Linked DNA regions of Homo sapiens: region 2 is linked to region 1. Evidence: promoter capture Hi-C in 16 types of primary human blood cells and fetal thymus (Javierre and others, 2016). All regions are on one chromosome and are shown on one strand. The core of a region is centred on a gene start or on the middle of the fragment in contact, and the rest is flanking DNA. Distances in the headings are between cores, read along the strand shown. Region 1 holds the start of LAPTM5 (lysosomal protein transmembrane 5). Region 2 holds the start of AZIN2 (antizyme inhibitor 2).

Region 1 (4,514 bases), core at 632-3,131:
CACAGGATTCATGGACTAGTTATGTATATTTTTATAATGCACATTAAAATGAATTTATCACCATAAAAAATGAGAAATGTTTACCCATAGACCATGTACAATTATTCCACATGCTGTCAGTGTGTTTCATCCCTCTCTTTGGGAGTTGGCTTTGCACCTGTCCTGGTTTCACCAAATCACAATGTTATGAATGGCTATCATTTATTATGGTAGGAAATCGTCAAATGGCTTCTGTGCACAATCAAATGCAGACTCCCCAGCATGGCCTCAGGGCCCTCCTGGCCCCTGGTTTCCTGATCTCCAGTTCCTCTGGTCTTGCTACTCTTAGACAAAGGAGGACTTCTCTTGGTTTTCTGCCTACCCAGCCAGAAGATCCCAGGCCATGGGCCTGTGGAGCCAAAGTTCTTAACCACTGCACTGTGTCACCTTTCTATGATGTCAGGCCTCAGCAAGGCTTATGAAGGAACAGGAACAGCCTTGAAAATGAAGTTGGGAAGGGATAGGCCAGGCCTCCCAGGAGCCCAAAGCTTGCAGAGTCCCCTTGGTCTCATTGGCACATGGAGAATGGATTGATCAAGTCCACCAATCAAGTTTTGTGGGTCTAACAGAGCAACTCCTGCCAAGTGGGAGGAGCTTAGGGACTTTCTATAACCTCTCCTGGGGCAGAAATGATGGGCTGCAGCAGTGTCCAATCCTAACTCCATGATCTCCTGGGAGGGCAGGGCTTCATGGCAGTTCCTGTCTGCTCTGCACTAGAAGCTTGGCATTGCAAAGGGGCTCAGCTGTGGAATGAAGCAGGGCTTCTTCCAGAAATGTTGCATGTACTTCCTATTCCCTTTCTTTATTGCAATATGGATAATTTATCATCTGAGGAGGGAGTAGAGATTCCAGGGTAGCTTGCCTAAGAGTTGTGGCTTATTAATTCCAACTTTTTGCAAGATCAAGGGGGAAAAGCAATCCCTGATTTTGTGTGAGTATGGGGATTGGGTCTTGAGGCCCTGAAAGTGAGGTTCGGGTCTCACAGATTGCTGTGAAGAGTTATTGACCCACCTAGAAGAGAAGCCTAGCCCAGGGCCTGGCGCACAGTTGATGGGTTTGCTTCCTGGTTATTCTTCCGTCCTTGTCTGGAGCCCTGCACGCCTCTTCGTAGCTTAGGAAGAACAAGCTTCTCCCTGCGGCTCAGGGTGAGGAAGTGGGAGAGAACACCAGCTCCAGGGAGGCTTCTAGCACCAGTCAGCCTCAGTTAAAATCCTTGCACCTTCATTGACTAGCTGTGTGACCTTGCACGAATCATTCCCCCTCTCTGTGCCTCAGTTTCTTCATCTGTAAAATGGGGATCATAATAGTACCTCTCTCAAAGGATTGAGGTGAGGATGAAAGGAGTGAATCCAGGAGCATGCCTGGAAGAGGCAGGAAATGCCTCCTAGACAATAGCTATTTTTGCAGCCAGACAGATCTGGGTTTGAATTCTGCCACCAGTGCTAACTACTGTGTGATTTGGGGCAAGTGCCTTGACCTCTCTGGACAGCTGTTTCCTCATCTGGAAATGGGCTTGGTAACAGTCCTGGCTTCCAAAGTTGGTAGTGTTCTTCTAGTAAGCAAGCTGTGTGAAACGGTGGAACCCTGGCCCTGGTGCAGAGAAGGGCATGATGACCGTGTTAGGGTCTGTCCTCTCTGGAACCCCCTCCTGGGAATGGCAGAGGGCAGTGGGGTGCTCTGAGGCAGGCTGCTGCCCTGTCCCCACTCCCCCTCCCCAGCTGCCCCGCCCCAGCTGTGACGACCTTGTCCCTGCCTGTCTAAGGGGCAGGAAGGAAGTGAGGAGGGCAGCCAGCAGCTTCCCCTTCTCTGCCCTGCTCCAGGCACCAGGCTCTTTCCCCTTCAGTGTCTCAGAGGAGGGGACGGCAGCACCATGGACCCCCGCTTGTCCACTGTCCGCCAGACCTGCTGCTGCTTCAATGTCCGCATCGCAACCACCGCCCTGGCCATCTACCATGTGGTGAGTGTGCGGGCCCCGGGTGTGTGTGCGTGCGTGCTTGTGTGAGTGTGAATGTCTGCGGTGACCCGTCATCTACGGAGCCCCACAAATGAAAGAACTCCTGCTCTCCACCTCTCTGGGGGACCCTGGGCAAATCCCTGTCCTGCTCTGGGCCTCAGTTTCCTTCTCTGTCAAATGGCTGGGGGTACCCTGGGGAGATGCCGCAAGAGTGAGGAGTAAGGGAGCTGGAATCCACTTTCCAGGCAAATGTAACTGACGTTCACTCCGAGGCTGGCTCCGTTTCTGCCTCTGTGAGATGGGGCACAGCAGCAGCCGGAAGGTTATTTGTGTGCAAAGCCAACAGCAGATGTGAAAGTGCTTTGGAAGGCAGGGATCTTGGGAGGAACGTGGGCTGGGATTGTTTGACCGGGATGTGAGGTCGGCCGCAGACACAGCCCCGATTCTTCCCCTGGGGCCTGGAGGGAGCCTGGGCCACTCGAGGGGATGAGAAGTGGGGATCTCCCCTTTGTGCCTCCAGTGGGGAGGCAGGGGCCGTGTCCTCTCAGCTTCCAGCTCAGTCAAACCACGGCCTTCTGCCCACCAAAGAGAACTTGAGACCTGTGCTAATCATTAGGGTAACTTGTCCGGCCCAAGCTCTTGTTGGGCAACTTGTGAAGTCACGGCTGTCACTGGTTCCTCCTTTCCTGGTGACTCACAGTGTGGTCTTGGGCAAGTCACAGTGCCCGGGGGCCAAGGCTGCCCCTCTGCCTGGGGTGGCTGAGGGTCAGTGTCCTTGTACTGTCCTGCCTAGACCCACCCTACTCCCAAACTCCTGGCCACACTCATCTCCCCTAGACCCAAGCGACTTCCTCCTGGGGTGACTCAGGGCCTGTGGTTAACAGTTTTCTCATGAGTCTGGAAGGGCTTCCTCAAAATTAGCCTAGATCCACATGCTGCGGTGGGTTGCTGCAAACTCAGACCTGCCTGCGTCTGCTTCCTGTCACAGGCAGGGCAGGCAGAGCTGTGGCAAGAGCCCAGCCTTCAGGGGGGCGATGCTGTTCAGTGGTTAGCCCACGGCCTCTGGATGCAGACTCCTGCATGCAAATCCTGGCTTCCCTGCTTCCCAGCTCTGCAGCCTTGGGCAATTTACTTAACCTCTCTGAGCCTCAGTTTTCTCATTTAAAAAAATGGGGATGTGAATTATCATACCCATCTGATAGGGTTTGTTGTGAGGCTCAGGGAGTTGATACATACAAAGCATGCAGAACCACGCCTGACGCACAGGTGAGTGCTTTATTATTCGTTGTGCATCAGACATGGCACCTGCTGTCAGCATCCTTGGAGTCAAGTTGTCAGATTCAAGGACTCTAGTTTTGGGAGGAGGAACTCAGAGGTTGTCCTTCCGAGCTCCTGCCAATGCAAGAGCTGAGAGAAGCAAATCACTCTTTGAGTGTCCCTGTACCCTGTATTTTAGGCCTTCAAGCTCTGAGACTATGCACATTCTTAGAAGGACAGTGTGGCATGCAGGGGCGCCTCACAGGTAGCAAGTCCCTGGGTCCTCACCCCAGCCCTGCCACTAACTGGCTGTATGGGCTCAGACAAGCCTCTCTCTGGGCCTCAGTTTCCCTTTTATAAAGTCAGGGGTAAGGTGATGTTGACTGGCTCAGAGGTCTCCAACTCTGATGCCTCTAGGGTCTGGGCAGGCCATGTGAGTGACAGCAGGGGGCAGATGGGGCCTGCGGTGACCCCGGGAGCCCTTGCTTGGCCCACCCTGCAGCTGTTCTCTGTTTTTGCTTGTTGTTGCCACGAAGGATTGTGGGCCCTGGTGGCCGCTCTTCTGATGTTTAGAGAATAGGGAGCAGGCTTTTGTGTCACATCTTCTGATGTTTCAATGCTAGTGATTGATGCATGGTAGAAAAAAATCTCAGTGCAGGCCAAGTCAAATCCATTTGCAGGTTGTGTGGGCCCAGAGGCTGCCCTGCAAACCCGGGACTGTGGGGCTGTTAAGGTTTCTTGTTGATCGTGCCATCCGATGTCCTCACCTGTAAATGGTGGTGTGATATACGGTCCCTGCTCACAGAGCTGAAGAATGTGTGGGCCCTAGCAATCATGGAAGACTTCTTGGAGGTGGTGCCATTGGCAGGAGGGAGAGTTTGGTTGTGGGCAGTATGGAAGGTGAGGAGAAACAGGTGAGCAATGGCGTATGTGTTCGGCTTCTACAGGGACACAATAGAGACAAACCTGGAGTTTGGGGAGGAGGTGATAAAGGTTTTGAGTGACAAGCTAAGAAGTTGGATCTTCTCTGCAGTGCACCATTGATATTTTGGGCTGGATAATTCTTCATCTTGGGGGAGTGAATTGTGCGTTAGAGGAAGTTCAGCAGCATCCATGGTCTCTACCTACTAGATACTAGCAGCACTGCCCATCTCCCTACCCTGCCACTTGTGATAACCAAAAATGTCTCTAGTTATGGGGCCCAATCTCTCCCAGTTGAGAACCAATGCCTATGAGTGATGAGACGTTCTAGAGCAGGAGCAAG
Region 2 (4,357 bases), core at 268-2,767, 2.3 Mb before region 1:
CTGGAGGCTTATTTAAGGAGGCAGAATTCACAGAGCTTGGTAATGCCTAGATGTGGGCGGTGAGGGAGAGGGGGCAGCAGGAAAGGAATCCCCCGTTTCTGACCTTGGAGGGCTGGGTAAAAAGGCAACATAGGAGGGGCAGGTTTGGGGGCAAGGACAAAGAATTGGGGATAAATTGAGCCCCTCTCTTGCAAATAGCAAGGATTGCGTACCAAATAAGCGAAAGGATAAGATGAGGGCCCTAGGGACCCTTCCTGAGGAGGCAGCTGATCTGTACAGGGGACCGGGGACCCACCCCCATTCCCAGCCCCTCACCGTGGTGGCCTGTGAGGCCCCCAGAGTGAGTTCCTTCAGCAGGTCTCGGGTACTGAAGCCCTCCTCCACCATCACAAAGTCCGATTCACTCAGGTAGCCAGCCATGCCTTGCAGGAGGAGCTGACGGGCTGGATGGAGCCGCTGCTGCAGCCGCCGCCTTAGAAAGTATGCAACACACTGCGGGGCGAGGGGAGATGAAGGGAACCGCTGGGGGGCCGGCTCTGCTGCCCCACTCGCCTCCCGAGGCCAGGGATCCCAATCCCGTCACAACCCGCCCCCAGCACAAGCCCGGGGTTCACTGGGCAAGGGTGGAGAAAGTCAAGAATCCCGGATTTCAGACGGAGACAAGGCACCGTATGCCCAAATGTCACTGCCTCTCCGAGTCAGTTGCTCCCTCTGTAAAATGGATGAATTGTTTTGGAGAGCCTTCCCAGTTCTGAAATTCTGGATTTCAGGAAAGAGTGAGAGAGAGATGGAACAGAAAATCTGAGAAACTTGGGTGGGGAAGTTTCCAGGGCGCCCCCAGTCTTGACCACGCCCACCTAGAGGGTAGCCGGTGGCCACATCAAGGCGTCTCAGCCTAAGAGCAAGAGCTTAAGTTCGAGTCCGCTCTCTACTGCTTGACCTCGGGTACCCTCTGACCCTTTCGGAGCCGCAGTTTCCCCAATTGTAAATGGGGGCTGGACTGATCCTGAGGTGCTAGAATTCTAGGCGTGCCTGGGGACGCCACGCGGTGGGTGGGGGCCGCAAGCTCCTGGGAGAGAACGGAAGGCCGAGGTTTTTTCTGTCCGAGTGACTCCTACAGAGTGCAGGGCTGAGGTCCCCCCAACCCCCAGGGCCCCTTACCAAACTCCGTCCTCCTTCGCGGGGGCCAGAGCCAGGCGCGCTGCTAGGGGGGGTCGCCGGTGACCTCGAAACTTGTGCAACACCCCGAGGAGGAGTGGCAGTTGCGGAGCCGAGGCCTCTGCTGACAGGAGGCAGAAGGGGCAGGGAGGCAGGTCAGCACCAGGGCGGAGGGCGTCCGCTCCCCGAGGCTCCCCAGGCCACTTTCCGCACTCGCCTTAAAACGCATTTACACGGCTTCGGCCCATAGGTCTCCCCAGGGAGTGAATCGGATCCTCGGCGCCTCCGCTCTCTCGCTTCCCCGGGCTCGGGTCCCGCGGCCTGCGCCCCGCCAGCCCAGCAGCCACAGACCCCCACGCCCCGCCTTCCGCCCGCCGCTGGCTTATATAACCCCGCCCAGGCCCCGCCCATAGTGCCGAGGCCCTACCTCCGCTTGGCCGTAGCCCTGGCAACCGGGTGCCGCCATCCCATTGGTCGATTCCGACATAAAGCATTCAGCTCTGCTCGCCCTTACTGTAGTCTTCTCCCCCGGAGGCCTGGCGGTGGCTACCTCACGCTGGAAGTCAGAACTACAGGGCCGCCGCCACGCAGGTGAGACACTTAGACCCTGCATCTTAGGTCTTAGAGAGTGGGCAGGACCAGGAAGCCTTTTCTGCCTCTGCCTCAACTTACTTCGTGGTCCAGCTCTTGTCTGCGTCAGGAACTGCTCACTCATCTCTCGAAACCCGGTTCCAATGACATGTCCTTGTATTACTTTTGTAATAAAATTCTTTTTATTTAATTGCCTCTTCCAGGCATCTTCCCCGACTCCAACTCAAAACGCATCTAAAATGTCTTCAGAGAACCTTTTTGTGACTTTCCCAGTTCAGGGCAATCCCTCCCTTTATCCCATCCTGTGAACCCGGCAAACTCTTACTCATCTCTCAATAGAAATGTGTCTCCTTCTCCAAGAAGCTTTCCCGGACTTCCTCAACTCAAAGCATTTCTTCTATACCGAAAGCTGCTGCTCACCCATCAAAGTCCTGTATAATGTCACCTCTGTTGAACCTTCCATGACTTGCCTGGCCCCAAGGAACACAGCATTTAGTCTGTCTGGACCCCTCACTCATTTGGTTCTTGTTACCCATAGCGTGAGATTCCTGTTGTTATTTTACACTTCTTGTTTGGTTACACTTTGCATCTAGTTTGTGATTTCCCAAGGGCAAGGACTGAATACCCTGCTCAAGAGCCTGGTGCCTGGCATAGACAAGAATGCTGAGGAAGATTCAATAGCTGTGTTACTCAAAAGCTGATATAAAAGTTCATCTGGAAAAGTAAGTGTACAAGAACAGTCAAGACACTCTTTTTGCCCAGGCTGGAGTGCAATGGCACGATCTCAGCTCACTGCAACCTCTGCCTCCTGGGTTCAAGCGATTCTCCTGCCTCAGCCTCCCAAGTAACTGGGATTATAGGCGCATGCCACCACGCACAGCTAATTTTGTATTTTCAGTAGAGATGGGGTTTCACCATATTGGCCAGGGTGGTCTTGAACTCCTGACCTCCAGTAATCTACCCGCCCCGGCCTCCCAAAGTGCTGGGATTATAGGCGTGAGCCACCGCGCCCGGCCAAAACTACAGTCTTTAAAACAGTATGGTGCTGGAGCAGGAAGAGACAGTGGTAAAACAGAACAGGGTCTACAACAGTCCCATATACATTGGAGATTGGTACACAATGGAGGCAGCATTTCAAATCAATGAAGCCAAAGGGCTTTTGGTCTACCATATGTCTTCATGTCCCCTGCTAGGCTGTGGGCTTTTTTTTTTTTTTTTCTCTTTTGAGACAAGATCTGGCTCTGTCACCCAGGCTGGAGTGCAGTGACATGACCTCAGCTCACTGCAACCTCCACCTCCCAGGCTCAAGTGATCCTCCAACCTCGGCCTCCCAAGTAGCTGGGACTACAAGTGCATGCTACCATACCTTGCTGATTTTTGTATTTTTTGTAGAGACAGGGTTTCGCCCTGTTGCCCAGGCTAGTCTCAAACTCCTGAGCTCTAGCAATCTGCCTGCCTCAGCCTCCCAAAGTGCTGGGATTACAGGCGTGAGCCACCATGCCCAGTGGGCTGTAGACTTTTTTTTAAATCAGAGGCACTTCTTGTCCCGCCTTAGTATCTCCCTAGGACACTGCACAACCTAGTTAGAACATGCTCAGTACACAAATGGTGTGGGGCAGGGACCAGAAGCAGGAGAGCCATTTTCTGCTCCCTACCCAGCTGGGACATATAATTGCTGGGTGTCCTTGGCTGAGTCACCCTAACTGGATCTGGGTCACTTCTGCCTGGCTTGATTTCCCCCTGTGAACTGAGAGGTTTCAGACTGATTTCTCTGGGCCCTTCTGCCTGGAACCATCTTGTTTTCTATGCATAGGAGTAGTATTTCAGGAGGCAGCTTTATAGGACAGTCATTTGCAGGACCTTTCTTTGAGATTAATAGTCATTTGCAACATAGTATGAGAACAAGTATCTACCAATCAGGAAGGGTAGATTAGGACGGCCATGGCAGAAACCCTAAAAGATTATACTGAGAGGGCCAGGCGCGGTGGCTCACGCCTGTAATCCTAGCTGAGATGGGAGGATCACGAGGTCAGGAGATCGAGACCATCCTGGCTAACATGGTGAAACCCCATCTCTACTAAAAATACAAAAAAAAATTAGCCAGGTGCGGTGGCGGGAGCCTGTAGTCCCAGCTACTCGGGAGGCTGGGGCAGGAGAATGGCGTGAACCCGGGAGGCGGAGCTTGCGGTGAGCCGAGATCACGCCACCGCACTCCAGCCTGGGTGACAGAGCAAGACTCTGTCTCAAAAAAAAAAAAAAAATTAGACTGAGAGGAGAGGAGCACCCGAATAACTTTGGCTCTACTTTTAGTTAAATCATTCTCTGAGCTGTCTGCATTTGGATGTCATGGTCTGGGTCTGCCCTACCAGCTTTTTTCATCACCTAGTAGGCACATAATAGGTACATTCAATATGTTTACTGAATGAATCAATAGAGGTAAGAAGAAACGAGCCAGAATCCAGTCTGTCCATTTGGAATCTATCAAGAGTAAGTAATCAGAGCAGAAAAATCTGCACCCTGGACTGAGTACAGATAGGCTGTGGCTTTTTCTTTTTTCCCTGCTTGTTATGTGATGTCATTGAAACTCCATGACAACCCTATGTCACAG

What was found. Contacts are between HindIII fragments. The CHiCAGO score rates a contact against its expected background, and 5 or more counts as called.
Region 2: the fragment with the promoter of AZIN2 here is called in contact with the fragment with the promoter of LAPTM5 in region 1 in 1 of 17 cell types (non-activated CD4 T cells); the score reaches 6.7 in non-activated CD4 T cells.

The regions. Positions count from the first base shown.
Region 1 is chr1:30,755,141-30,759,654 of GRCh38, reverse strand. LAPTM5 (lysosomal protein transmembrane 5) reads left to right here and starts at 1,881. Exons shown (of 8, transcript NM_006762.3): 1 at 1,881-1,996. The coding sequence starts at 1,910. RefSeq lists enhancers at 732-801, 1,870-2,149, 2,278-3,074, 3,740-3,789, 4,261-4,514. The HindIII fragment of the contact is 6,145 bases long and covers 1,168-4,514 here.
Region 2 is chr1:33,078,313-33,082,669 of GRCh38, reverse strand. AZIN2 (antizyme inhibitor 2) reads right to left here and starts at 1,517. Exons shown (of 12, transcript NM_052998.4): 1 at 1,376-1,517; 2 at 1,162-1,282; 3 at 858-1,069; 4 at 316-492. The coding sequence starts at 420. It overlaps LOC105378635 (a long non-coding RNA gene), which reads left to right and starts at 1,674. Exons shown (of 3, transcript XR_947163.2): 1 at 1,674-1,749; 2 at 2,343-2,471. RefSeq lists a silencer at 1,296-1,555. The HindIII fragment of the contact is 16,354 bases long and covers 1-2,114 here.